3 separate regions of the Homo sapiens genome follow, and all the other regions are linked to region 3. Evidence: promoter capture Hi-C in 16 types of primary human blood cells and fetal thymus (Javierre and others, 2016). All regions are on one chromosome and are shown on one strand. Each heading gives the region's core, a stretch centred on a gene start or on the middle of the fragment in contact. The rest is flanking DNA. Distances are from core to core; before and after follow the strand shown.

Region 1 (4,942 bases), core at 1,885-4,384, 6.4 Mb before region 3:
GTGTGCCCATATCTAGGGATTCATGAAATAAACATGAAATAAAATAGCATTAATCCTCAAGAATCTCAAGACTATCAAAAAGATTTTACATTTTTAAGGTTGATTCAAAACTATGTGCAGAAATTGCAGCCTTATTTGTGCTTTACACGAACTCAAAAGTTTAATACTAAAGGTACCTAGAGGAAATCCCTGCCCTTTTTGAGTATCTCTAGTAACAAGAATGGTTTTTAATTTTATCCTTTACTTAGGATGTTTACCTATTACACTTTATAATGATATTTCAAACTTCAAACTAAGAAATAAAAGGTAACCCAGTTTTCAAAACTCAAGCAGAGGTATAGGATGGATAAAGATGGACTTGTGACCTGATTGTGTACCTTTATAAAAATATGAGAGGAAATTATTTTGCACACTATTTTCTTTATACTTAATTATATTACAATAACAGTGTAACTAGCAGTTATAAAATTTTCTTTGTTCTCGTTAAATGCCTAAAACTCTAAGAGCAACACAACTATAAATTAAATCTGAACGATACACTATTCTTATAGCAGACAAAAGGGATTTCCCTCCTTTATTAAGTTCTTATTTTAGGACATACCAATTCGTATTCCTCGTAAGAGGCATAGCATTAAAAAAACAAAGATGAGTTTCCAGGCTCCCATTTCCAAAATTCTTATCAGTCTCCCTAGATGATTATAGCAAAGGAAAAAGTAACATGTACAATACGTCATCACATTTCCCAATTGAGTTCTTTTCCAAATGGTAATTTTATAAATTAAAGTAACTAAGTAAATCCATGATCAGCAAACAGTTGCTAGGTGATGAAGAATTTAAACAAAGCATGTAAATAATTTGGCAACTCAACCATGTAACTCAAACCTAGTAACAGGTAAAAAACTAAATATTCTAAGTTATAATGTGGGAGTATATGTATACTTATGTATATGTGTATACACACATTATACATGCATGGGTTGTTTTGGGGTTTTTTTTGTCATCTCTGCCAAGATCAGCCAAGAGGAAGAACGGTAATTCGTTTAAAAGTTAGGAACTGGGCATACCTTTAAAATTTCAACAGCATATTTCCTTTATATTGTATTACAGTAACTGCTCTATAAAACTGTTGTCTGAAGCCTAGGTAAGAATAAAGTCTATTTCGAGAACAGCATTTATCACTGCCCAAAAACAGTAAGGAAAATGTTGCAGATTACAAAAGATATTTAGCTTGGACTACAGCTGATAACTTTGAAAAATGTTTCTCAAATCTTTAAAGAGGTAGTAAGTTTTTCTTCAACTGTTAAATTATTGGACTTTTTTGCAAAAAGAATGTTATTTAAATTTTCTAAAATGAGAACTTTGAGTTTACGTTAAACATCTCTAAAATATTTAATAGTTTTAAAAATATACTACAGTGAGATGCATTTGTAAAATACAATTATCCAGAGTTAGACAAAAGTAAACATGAAACTTAAAGAGGGGAAGCCTGGACCATTATTAATCCTTTCCCACATGAAAAGTGCAGATATTAGCAGAATATTCACTAAGTAAAAGGAAAATATTACCTGGTTTCTAAGGCACACAGTTAGCTGTAAGATCTAAAGTGGGATTTATTTGCATTAAGCTTTCAGAATACTTGCTGCAACTCGGGTAGAAATAGGTAAGTATTCACATGATATGTAAGTCTGTAGTCCAGAAAGGTATTTCAACTAAAATATGTCAATTTTCACATCTGAAATCATTCAGACATTACTGATATAGTATTTGGAAGAGTTTCTGTATAGAAGATTTTTTTCAGGCTGACAGTACTTAGCGCTTTAGAGGGTCAGGTAAACCCAGTTCTCTTTTGTTCAGCAATGTCTCATTTCCACTACCTCAAACTTGGTCCCCAGTTCCACTATCCGAAGCCTGCTTTACATTATGTCGTACTTCATTGGTACCACATACAGTGATTACATTATAAAAGGCCTCTAGATCACTTTGTTCAAATTTAACAGATGGTTTCGGTAATGTTCCAGGAGCAAGGGAACTCTCTCCCATAATTTTCAGGTTGATAAATTTGATTTTCCAAGTATTCTCCACAAAAGGGCAGCGGATGAGTCCAAAAATTTGTTCAAAAATGCCCAAACAAGTGTTTCCTCGATGGACAGTCCCAGCAACTCCAACCATAACCAGCCCATGAGGAGAAGATGCACATTTCAGTCCATGTGAATCTAGGTTGGGGCTGAGAAAAAGAAATTCTTCTTTTACTAGTGACAGCAAACGAAGGCTCACGATTTCTGCTCCATGGTAGTCCATAACATTTTGTTCTGATGTGTTGTAATAAAACCTAAGCTTCACATCATGCCAGAAGTGCTGTGGTCCCCATTCATCTTGAGGTGGTCCTAGAAAAGGATTCTGAGAATTAAGAAGTCCAAAGAACCAATGACAGAATTCTTCTCCTAGGCGACGAAAATCAACTTTTTCAGCTTTTTTATCTTCTTTCACCTGCTGATTGAAACAAATAAAATAAATACAAAATAACACTAAGGTTTAACTTTCATATCTATTTTTCTATCTAGCCTATTAAGTTTGAATGAACCCATTACACCAGAGAGAAATGAACCATATGTGAACTTGCTGAACCCATTATGCATAGTAAAAATCTTTTTTCAAGAGGAGAAAAATCATTTTAGAAATTTCCAGCTTAAATTGCTGAAAATTCAGCTAAGAGAGTAAGGTTTAGTAAGGCCAATTTAAAAATCAGTATGAACTTGGCGGGCGTGGTGGCTCACGCCTGTAATCCCAGCACTTTGGGAGGAGGAGGCAGGCGGATGGTGAGGTCAGGAGTTTGAGACCAGCCTGGCCAATATAGTGAAACCCCGTCTCTACTAAAAATACAAAAATTAGCCGGGCATGGTGGCGTGTACCTGTATTCCCAGCTACTCAGGAGGCTGAGGCAGGAGAATCACTTGAACTTGGGAGGTGGAGGTTGCAGTGAGCCAAGATAGCATCACTGCACTCCAGCCCGCGCAACAGAGCGAGACTCCGTGTGAAAAAAAAAAAAAAATCAGTATGAACAGTCATATATAAAAATATATAAATTATATGATGATTTATGTAAGTGTTTCCTCAGATTGTGGCAGTGTTTTCACAGGTATATATGTATATCACAGGTATATATGTGAAAACCTTCAAAACGTTCACTTTAAATGGATGCATTTTGCATATAAATGACATAAAGTTAATATAAGCAAGCATTTTCATTGTCTTTAAATAGATACTCTTACGGTGATTGAAACAGGTTATTTTCTATAACTGGGATTAATTTTATTCTATTATTTCTCTTTTTTCACAGAAAATGTTACTGTAAGCTGGGCGTGGTGGTTCATGCCTGTAATCCCGGCACTTTGGGAGGCTGAGGCAGGCAGATCACTTGAGGTTAGGAGTTCAAGACCAGTCTTGACAACATGGTGAAACCCCGTCTCTACTAAAAACACAAAAATTAGCTGAGTGTAGTGGCGCATGCCTGTAATTCCAGCTACTTGGGAGGCTGAGGCAGGAGAAGTGCTTGAACCCAGAGGGTGGAGGCTGCAGTGAGCTGAGATCATGCCAACTGTACTCCAGCCTGGGTGACAGGGCAGACTTTGTCTCAAAAAAAAAAAAAAAAAGTTACTGTAAAAATCTACCTGATACACTAGATCTCATTCATCCATGTGTTCCACAACACAGTACTTTACTGAGATGTATGAGATCTTAGGTTTACTGAGCACCTGCTATTTAATACACTGGGCACTGTGCGTGGCACTGGTTATTTGCCTAATTTAACACACCTAGTATATTGCAGACCCTAATTTGAAGTCGTATTTGTATGATTTCAAAGTCAATGCTCTTATCAGTACATAAAGTAAGAAAGCTCTTAAAGATTCTTTCCTAGTGTGAAGGCAAAGCTTTCTCACTGTGAAACCTCATTAATTCAAAAAATGTGGTATGTAGTTTAAAAATCTGCAAATTACATAGAGGTTAATTCAAGCAACACTTAAATATTTGTGCAGTATCTAAAATGTACAGTGGAGATAATATAAAGAACAGAAACAGCCAATGTCCGCTGGAGAATATTTCTACAATAGGACTTTTTCTAGTTAAAAAAAAAAAAGTATAAAAAATATTTAGGTTCCAATGTGGGGGCGGGGGCATCAAGAAAAATAGCTAACGCATGCTGGGCTTCATACCTAGGTGATAGGTTGATAGGCGCAGCAAACCACCATGGCACATGTTTACCTATCTAACAAACCTGCACACGTACCCTGGAACTTAAAAGAAAATTTTTTTTAAAGTAAAATTTTAAGTTCCTTTCATGACATTTTTGCAATACCAAAAACGTCTTAAAAGTGAGAAAGAATTTGCAATAAAATTCTTCTAAAGTGAAAAAAAATTACACGGAGCTAAAGTTAAAATTAACCTTGCAGTTTACTCTCTAAAAATCCAATAGTCCTCATTTGATGATGCTGATATTGAAAAATACTTTCTCACATATCAATAGATGATTATATATGCATCACTATATGTCAGAAATATTTTTGCTCTTAGTTGCTTTACTGGTCTCTTCCTTCCTTCAGGATTGATAGGATATGAAATAAAGTTAAAATTATAAAATATAAAAAAAATAGGCTGGGCATGGTGGCTCATGCCTGTAATTCCAGCTGAGGCGGGAGGACCACTTGAGGTCAGGAGTTCAAGACCAGCCTGGGCAACATAGTTGGGACCCTATCCCTACCAAAAAATTTTAAAAATTAGCCAGGCATGGTGGTGCATGCCTGTAGCCCTAGCTACTCAGGAGACAGAGGTGGGCAGAACACTTGAGTCCAGAAGTTCAAGGCTGCAGTGAGCTATGATTACACCACTGCACTCCAGCCTGGGCAACAGAGCAAGAATCTCTTAAAAAATAAAAATAAAAAAACCC
Region 2 (4,945 bases), core at 2,076-4,575, 5.5 Mb before region 3:
TTTAGTAGAGACGGGGTTTCACCATGTTGGCCAGGCTGATCTCGAACTTCTGACCTCAGGTGATCCAACCGCCTCGGCCTCCCAAAGTGCTGGGATTACAGGTGTGAGCCACCATGCTCGGTGGTGATGATGGTCTTATACAAGCTACAACAATACTGCTCAGAAAGACAAGCCACTATACTCAGAAGTTAAACTGTGGCCAGATAATTGACACAGGTGCACAGCAACTGCTGAAAGTTAAGATCTAAAATTCTATCTACATACATTTTTTTTTCATTACGAGGGTGATATTAAAAATATAAATGTGGTCTTCATCCTGGGTGCCTGGCACAGAGGGCCTAAAACCCTTGGAATTTCCTGAATGATAGGAATGTCTTTTGTTATTCACAACAAGCTTCTTTGTACCATATCTGAGTATATGGGGTAGGTGTGGGAGGGTAGCTGATAGCCTCAGGATGAGGTTAGTCACCAGAAAGACCAAACACTTGACTAAAGGGTGGGAACTTTTAACTCCACCCCCATATGTCAGGAGAGGTGGGTGCTTGAGATTAGGTTATAAAAAAACCTTACCTAAGAGATTCAGAGAACCTCTCAATTGGTGAACACACTGATATGCTAGGAAGATGGCACACACAGAGAGGGCATGGGAGCTCTGTCCTCCACCTTCGACCCTTGACCTATGGATCACTTCCATTTGGCTATTACTAATTGTATACTTTAAAATAAACCAGTAACAGTAAATAAAGCACTCTGATGAGTTCTGAGAGTTGTCCTAGTGAATTATCAAAGTTGAAGATGAAGTTGTAGGAAAACCCTGGTCAGTCAGAAGTACTCACCAGAAGCACAATCTGCGTCTTTCAAGTGGCATCTGAAGTAGGGCAGTCTTGTGGGACTGTCTTTCACCTATAGGGTCTGCCCTAACTCTAGATAATTACCGTCAGAAGTGAACTGAATTGCTGAACACCCAATAGGTGTCTGAGAATCAGAGTCAAGGCTAGATATAGCCATCTTTACTGAAAAACAAGTATTATTACATGAGAATTCAACAAAACATGTAATTTAATTAAAATAGTTTAATTTTTCTCAATATAATGTAACTATATGTATCATAACAGTCACTGTATATCATAAAAGGAAAAATAAAGAAAATTAACTACTGCATATTCCACAGCCTCATAGTTGTTAATAGGCCTATTAATATTTAAACAGTTCTAAGCTATAAACTCAGAGCGGCTAATGTTACATACTAAAACATAATCACAACACCTTAAAACATATTATGGTAAGTAGGAAAAGACAGTAAAACATATTTTCATACGAGACAATAGAAATATACTATAAAACTAACATATTACTCTTCTCTTTTTAAAACAATCTCTATATTAAATCCACATTTAATAATTTGGTCTTCTAGATAATACAGAAGGAATAATATGAGAACGGTCTGAGGCAATTTTAATGTTTTTACAGCCAAATTTATTATCCACTAGATTTATTTCTTAGTAGGTATGATTCCATCCCAAGATTACAATCTCTTTAAGAGAAGGGAATACATATATTTATTTATTTGCTTGTTTGTAGTCCCACCTTTCTTCATGCAAATAGCATACCAATATATCATACTTACTAGCGATCTATGGGAGTACAAACATATACATTGAAATGTGAAAGGATTCCTCTTACAGGCATATTTAACACGTCTTTAAAATGTAAAACAAAATCAGTTGTCAAAAAAGATAATTTAACAATAGTAAAATATGAAACATGATAGGTAGCTTTCTACAATGGAAATGTGAAACATTGAAATAATTGGCTGTTTTCCTTATAACTTTCTACTTCCCCGATTTTTCAATGTGAGGCAAGATCATGACAGAAACATGTACAGGGTACTGCTGCCACCTAAGAGAGATGGAGTGCTTGACTCCTGTCTATCCTCTGCTTCTTTCTTCAGGCAGATAAAGGTATACACTCAATTTTTCATTCTCTAGGACTTCATCTACCTTGTGGTTTGTTTCAAAGACATCATAATAGGTGGTAATAGAAAACTTCACACTGTAAAAATGCCAAAGGTACATGGATATGATATGGTATATTCTCTCTCTTACCATTCAGTGAGATAAAAAGGGTCTGGAAGCTTGATTCATCCACCACCCTCTTTTCACCCATGCCCAGCACAACACTTAAGAAAAGGCCACCCAGGCCGGCTCCACTCTGGGCATTAAAAGCCTATCTCAAGTCTTTCAGGTTCTTCTTACTGAAGGAAATACACAGGTCTACAGTAGAGTGATGAGATCATAGACTTAAGTCTTGGACTTAAGAGACACAAGGTGTTTCTGCCTTTTTTGGTTCTGAGTCAATATGGTTTATCTGCTTACAAAAAATAAAAAGTCAAAAAATAAAAAATAAAAACAAAACAAAAAAGGTCTCCCATGTGGTCCAGTCTAGCTCACCAGAATTCTCTACTTGGGGTTTGAGGCCAAGCCCCAACTTGAATCATGCCTGTCCTCCCTACCATTAGTTCAGATATAATTTGTACATTTGAGGATAAAAGCAAAAAGTAATTATCAAGTATAAATATGGACATTCATTAATTTGTGAGTAATACTATTTAAAGTGCCTTTCTTTTGGGGGAAGGTGGGGAGCTATCTCAAGTTTGCAAGGCAGTTCAGGATGAATGCCTCAAGAATGCTGGGACAGTATGCAAATCACCATCGGTCAGCAGGATTCAAGCTGATCTACTAGAGAAGTAGCCACTATACTGTATGCTGTGTTTTTCACTATAAGGTCATAACAGACTTTTTAATCTAATAAGCCAAATTTCCTACTATTAAATGTATTTCTTTTGAGAAAATACATTTTTATCTATTGATTTTATTGCCTATCAGTTACTCTAAACCTAATCATCATATCAATTGAGATAGAAACAAAATGTTCCCACATCCTACTTTATAATCTCCATTAACTGGTTTTAAGGTATCAAGATCTCCAGGGAAGAGGTAGCTTCTACTTTAGACTTTACCTGCAAGCTCTGTAACAGCTAGTGTCAGTGGGAATAGTGGGCACTGTGACACTGGTAACAGCACTGGACAAATCCTGATTGTGCTATGGATATAAGAAAAGCCCAGAGTGAGCGTCAATTCAGCTAACTAGGCATGATGGAGCTTGCCAATGAACAGTAAAGTGAAAAGAAGTCCTGGCTACGTAAGGATGTTTCATCTTGACTTGATGAAGAGAAAAAAAAACTGCAAAAATATGACAAACTCAAAAGCTAAGGCATTAAAAAGAAATATTAAAGGTCACTATCCAGAAAGTTCCGGTTCTAGGAACAAGATTTACTCAAATGCAGAAGGAAAATGACAGTGAGAGTGGGTACAAAGTAATTAGAATTTGATATGCAAACCAAATTTGCTTCTCAGGTTTTGGGAATGGTATATCTGACACTCAGGGACAAATATTATCAGCTTAACTAATCAGTTCTAATACACGGTAAAAAGAAAACAAAAGGCAACTATAGAAAACAAAAAGAACAAAGGGGGATCATGCCAACAGCTTTATTCTACCTAGACATCGTCAAGAGAGCCAACTAACTTAAGAACCAGGTTTAAACTGAAAAACAGCAGGACTTGGAAGAGGCAAAATACTGAAGAGAAATTGGGGAGTCAAGCCAAGCCCTACAGTAGCATATGCGGTAGCAAAAATAATTTTTTTCTCCTACTAGTAACTCTCAAAAGTCACTCAAGCCCTGAGGAATTCATGTGAACCAATTTATAAACATAAAAATGCCACTGGTTTTCAAGAGCTAAAAGATGGTTTTGAGATGGGCACATGTCAGTAGACTTTTGAGTCTTGTTTGGTCCTCAACGGCAAAGGCTTTAGTAACATCATCAATAAAACTGCAGTTCAGAAAACTGTCAAAGCACATTTTTCATCTTAGATAAATGAGAGAATGAGAGGCAATGTGTCCTGGAAGAAAAGCCTCACAGGCCAATGGACCTGAAGATAGGAAATGGTAGCCAGAAAGGAAATGTCTGTCTTTGTTGTCATGCTGGGGATGCAGAAATACAGAGGGAACACATTTTTCCTACAGAAATATCTATTCTAAAAGTAGGGAGAATGTTTTTCTAAGAAAATGCTCAGAAGAGTATACTGTGTTCCTCAATCCCATGTTCAATTATTTTTCTTTGGTATGTCAAGAATGTAGGGGTTAAGTAGAAAGTAAAATTTGAGTTTTTTAAATATCCAGAATAAGGAGCACTAAAGGAACACATAGCATCCTGGGAAAGATCTGAATTCTGCAGGTACCACCATGAGAATAGTGTATTTTATTCTGGAATACAGAAAAAATGTTTCTGAAGGGTATTCCGTTTTATTTCCTTTTAACATCAGAAATGTGGCATCACAACTAATACATTGAAAGGGGATTTATCCCAACTTAGTCAAAACCTCACAGTTTTTGAACTCTAGACAACTAGCATATACAAATATCATCCCAATGAGGCAAAAGCCAAGAAGCTTTGTTCCTCTTCTCTCTGTAGTGTTCTTCAAATTACCTCTAACTTGCACTAAAGTTCACAGTGGGTGGCAAAGTGTGGATCCAGACTCTTCTAAGCCCTGGATATTGGAATACTACTTTGGTTAGTAAATGATATTATTTTAGATATTTAATCTCTAAATTAGAAACTCTTGCAGATATATTTTCATTTCTGCTGAAGACTCTGAAGCCCCTTACAAATATGGAATGTAGAAGAGACAGAATAAGCATTATCCAACTTTGAAAGTGCAGGAGGGTCTACTATGGTTCTAGTGAATCCAAGTCAGAAAGAAATGCCACAAAAGGGGAACATAAGGAGTACTTCATAGAGACTTTGAGAAGAAATAAACCTAGGATAGTTCAGCTTAGCTAGAGGAAGATAAAAAGGGAATTCTAGGCATAAGGGCATCAAAA
Region 3 (4,267 bases), core at 800-3,299:
TATAATCAGAAGTTTCTCAGGTATGAGGTGACATTTTTGCTGAGGCTGGAATGAAGGCTTGGAAAAAATTAAGCAAGTAGAGCTCAGCTCCCTGAAAATTTCCAACAGAGAGAACAGCAAGCAAATAATCTTAGAGGCTATTATACAACAAATTCACTGAGTTCCAGGAAAGTCAGTGTGACTAGAGCATAGTAAAACTGGAAAATGATGAGAAAAGTGGCTGGAAAGGTAGTCAGGGTCCAGATTATACAAGCCTTGTTAGAGAATGATAAGCTGTTTCTATTTTACCCTAAGTGAAATACTATGCTATTTAAGTTGCTAAATGACATCGTCTGATTTACTCAGTGTAGAGTCTCACCAAACTGTGTCCCCAACCACCAGCATCAGAATCACTTCTGAGCTTGTTAAAAATGCAATCTGAAGCACCACATCGGAACTCAATTAAGATCCCTAGGTGATTCATATGCACATTAAAGTGTGAGAAACACTGGTACAGAGAATGGAGTAGAGGTGAGAAAGAGTAGAAGAGGGGAAGTCAGTTAGAGAGCTACATTCTGGTCCAAGTGAAGGAAAACAGTGGCCTGCATAAGAGTGACAGCAGGAAGGATGAGAAGACGGATTCTAGGTCACGTTTTGCAGACAGTTTGTTTAGGTCTCCTAGCCAGCTAAATGGAAATCTCAGTAGACAGGCAGTGATACAAGCCTGGGTTTCTGAAAAAAGTTTAGGCTTGGAGATGTAGATCTGTGGGTCTGTTATTAATAGTTGTCCTGCTTCGGGTTTTTATTTTTTTTTAATTTTCTTCCTTTTTTAGTGCTTTATATTTTACAAATGTCTGCAGCAGTTTTTTGTCATCTTTATGGAAAACAAGGCACGTCTTAAAGTCGTTCAAGTCCTTCACTTTTTCACACTGAGGTCTGTCTTCATATCCACTTATCTTTCAAGTCTATGAAACCCCTTATAAAAACTTTCCTTTGAAATATTTTAAAATTCAAGGCCCACGGCTGATTAATACTGTTTCTCCTCCATAACCCCTAGGATCCTCCAGTTCTGGGTTTTAACAAGAAAAATATCCTCAATCCTCTCTAGTTTCTAGGTGTAAAGCAGCTTGGACCCTCCTGGGTTTGGTGGGTCCATCTCTCTTGGAGTCCAACTCTGTATTCCTAAAAAGCAATTATTGAAATAGAAGCTAGTCAGTTAATGGCAATAAAAGAAGGGAATTCCAAGTGGGAGCTTCCCAAGCCAAGAGGAAGAGAGGTTTCTTGCCTTATCACTGTAAGTGGCAGAGTGGAGTTCCAATTCAATGATATCATTTGTGTTATCAAAGGTAGTTTAATCGTTGAAAAGCTTGTTAACAATTATAAACACAGGCAAATGCCTTTTCCTTTTTGGCCTTACGGAGAATGAGAAAAGTTCTTCCCATGGCTAAAATTCTTAGCTGTTGGTAATGCAGAAAAGAGTACCAGAACAGCAGAATTCCAACGGTATTCCAGGATTCTGTGTCTTGGTTAATTTTAAATTCACGTGACCTGGCAAACTTAGGAGAGTCCTGGTTGTAAGAGGTATTAACATTTTCAGCAGTAGTACTCTAGCTACACTTGACTGTTCCCCTCTCTGTGAATTTACATGATATGTTTGAAATACTGCCCCTCAAAAGTCTCAGAACTTTGAGAAATACGGTCCTTTCCAAAAAAACCCCTTATGTCCAATTTGAAGGGGTCGCTGTCAGTGGGTGCTTAAGTGGGTAAAGAAAAGCCAAGAATATGTCAGGGTGAGGAAGGCCAAGGCTGAGCGAGGTCAGCTTGGGACCCACCTCCTAGAATGACCTCCGCCAGCAGGAAAAAACCGTTAAGGGGAGGAAAGGGCAGGTCCCTGCGGCCTCCAGGTGCCAGCCGCGTGAGTGGGCGGAGAGGCCTCGGTGCCTCCTACCCGCTCCGGACGTGCGTCCCGGCATCACCCCGGGATCCGCTCCTCCCCGCTGGCGGGGGGAGAAAGGGCAGGAGGCCTTCCGTCCCGGCTATAAAGGGCCCCGGACCGCCGCGGCTCGCCTCGGCTTGCCTCGACACGCCTAGGCGCCCTCCGGCTCCGCCCTAGCCGCCGCGTCCCAGCTAGAGCTCCAGCGCCCGCTCAGGCCCCACTCGACCTCTCGGGCCTCGGCTACTTGGACTGCGGCGGAATATGGCGGCTCCGATGACTCCCGCGGCTCGGCCCGAGGACTACGAGGCGGCGCTCAATGCCGCCCTGGCTGACGTGCCCGAACTGGCCAGACTCCTGGAGATCGACCCGTACTTGAAGCCCTACGCCGTGGACTTCCAGCGCAGGTACCGCCGGAATCCCACCACCCCCACTTAGACAGGCAGCCCGCCTCCCAGGAGCCGTCTCGGGACACGGGCCGCCCCTCGGCCCTCGCGCGCCAACCCCGCCCCAGGCGGGGAGGAACCTGAGTGGGCGGGGCTCGGGGTGACTCGGGTAACCGGGTTCTGTGGCTTCCGTAGTGGCAGGTTTGACAGCGCTGGTGCCCGGAGCGGGCGCTGAAGAAACTTCTTTCCTCATCCCCTTTCCCCTCTGTTCTAATCAGCGGTCTTGCGCCATAGGGTACGTGCTGTGGCTCCAACACTTATTCCCCAGAGTGCTGCTGGGGAGTGACTCACCGCCGCTGCAGGTTTTCTGACTTTGGCACCCACTAGCGTGGGCCTGTGGAGTAACGTGGGCATAACTCCTGGCACGTGTAATTACGCATTTAAAACTTTCTAGTTTATTTCATAGCAAATGTTGTGATTTTATATCTAAGAGGATTCCTTCAGGCAGACACTATATCCTTTTGTTTTTTCCTTGCTAATATTCCTCATTTAGGGGAAGATTACACCTACATTGATCAATTTTTTCTCCCCTTGGATCAACATTGAGAAGTTAAATGTACATCAACATTTGTCCGTGTGTGACTTTAACCATCTTGAAGAGGGAGAAAGGTCAGGAAAGCAACTTTTACAGGCCAATGTCGTTTTAGCTTGTCTTCTACCATTGTGTACCATACAACTTTAGTTACTGGGCTAATAATTCTATTCATAAGTTCCACTAAAAAGGTACAGGTCTTTTTCTGTTGTCGTTGTTGTTTGAAGTAAAAGAGCTATTATACAAGTTGTAATAGTTATACTTGTGAGGTTACCCCATTTTGATTTAATAGTTTCTCCCCTTTTAGGAGAGACACTGCAGAATGGAAACTATCCTGGCAACAGAATATACATGGCCAATTTTTCGAGTGATGGAAAACATCCAACTAGTTAACTGGCATGAAGGAGCGTTGAGAGTAATGAAAATGGGTTGATTTGGAGTTTGAAAAAAGCCCAGCAAATTGTTTGTGTCCTAGCATTTTCAGGTATTAAATGCATTCAAATCAGCAAGTGTTTATTGAGGAACTCCTATAAATAAAACACTGCTCTAGGGATTGTAAGGGATGTGAAGTTTCATTCTTGAGCTTGTATATAGTAGTGAATGAGGCCTCTGTAAAATAATCACCTTGAGCTGTCCCTCACTTAATCAGATGATTATGCTCTTATATAAACCATATGAGGAGCAGCCTTGTGAAATTGTTTTCAGAATTTACAGTATATGCTTTCAGAGAAACTTAGTGCATAATCGTCATAGGTTTAAGGTTGGATTTGATTTAGAAATAGTCAGAAAAAATTTAGAACAAAAGATAGTGATTAAAGGTAGTGGTTAGATTTTTTTTTTGATGTCCTTGTAACCATGACATTAATTTACCTGTGTGCTTTGTAAAAGGACACTTAAGATATTTATTAAAGAAGAGTTGTGGAAATGTTTTATCTACACCCCCTTCCTTTTTTTTTTAAATGACACAAACAGATTAACATTCTTTATTAAGTGTTTCTTTCATGTACTTTATTTCCAACTCCACTGGGATTGAAGCATTTATAATCTTCTTTCATGGTTTGCCAAAACTAATGAAGGGAACAAAGGCCAAGATAAAGAAGGGAAGAGAATCCAGTGTGCTTGGTGAAAAGTCTCGTCCAGTGGGCCCTCATGCCTCACTCTGACCCGGATTTTACTTTTGTCCTTGGTTCTGAGTAATGGCCATTTGCTAGCATACATGTTCCATTTAGGCATATCAAATAGTAATTTGGCATTTGTTAGTGGTAACTTCTATTGTTAACACTTGAAGAATAAAACATTTTTCCTTCATACAATCTGGTCTTAGTTCCTTGTCCAATTTTCCATTTATTTCTGATAATCCATTTGGACTGTGTGTCT

Evidence for each region. Contacts are between HindIII fragments. The CHiCAGO score rates a contact against its expected background, and 5 or more counts as called.
Region 1: a fragment that was not itself captured here is called in contact with the fragment with the promoter of GBE1 in region 3 in 1 of 17 cell types (total B cells); the score reaches 6.4 in total B cells.
Region 2: a contact is called between a fragment that was not itself captured here and the fragment with the promoter of GBE1 in region 3, in 2 of 17 cell types (total CD4 T cells and total B cells). The highest score is 8.1, in total CD4 T cells.

The regions. Positions count from the first base shown.
Region 1 is chr3:88,153,569-88,158,510 of GRCh38, reverse strand. C3orf38 (chromosome 3 open reading frame 38) reads right to left here. Exons shown (of 3, transcript NM_173824.4): 3 at 546-2,490. The coding sequence ends at 1,876. Among named protein-coding and RNA genes, the nearest start is that of C3orf38, 6.1 kb to the right of the region's middle. The HindIII fragment of the contact is 1,595 bases long and covers 2,337-3,931 here.
Region 2 is chr3:87,231,748-87,236,692 of GRCh38, reverse strand. All of the region lies in intron 1 of CHMP2B (charged multivesicular body protein 2B), which reads right to left. Among named protein-coding and RNA genes, the nearest start is that of CHMP2B, 6.9 kb to the right of the region's middle. The HindIII fragment of the contact is 2,378 bases long and covers 2,137-4,514 here.
Region 3 is chr3:81,759,427-81,763,693 of GRCh38, reverse strand. It overlaps GBE1 (1,4-alpha-glucan branching enzyme 1), which reads left to right and starts at 2,049. Exons shown (of 16, transcript NM_000158.4): 1 at 2,049-2,319. The coding sequence starts at 2,177. RefSeq lists silencers at 1,821-1,920, 2,421-2,500 and enhancers at 1,576-2,184, 1,971-2,260, 2,601-2,770. The HindIII fragment of the contact is 5,689 bases long and covers 1,348-4,267 here.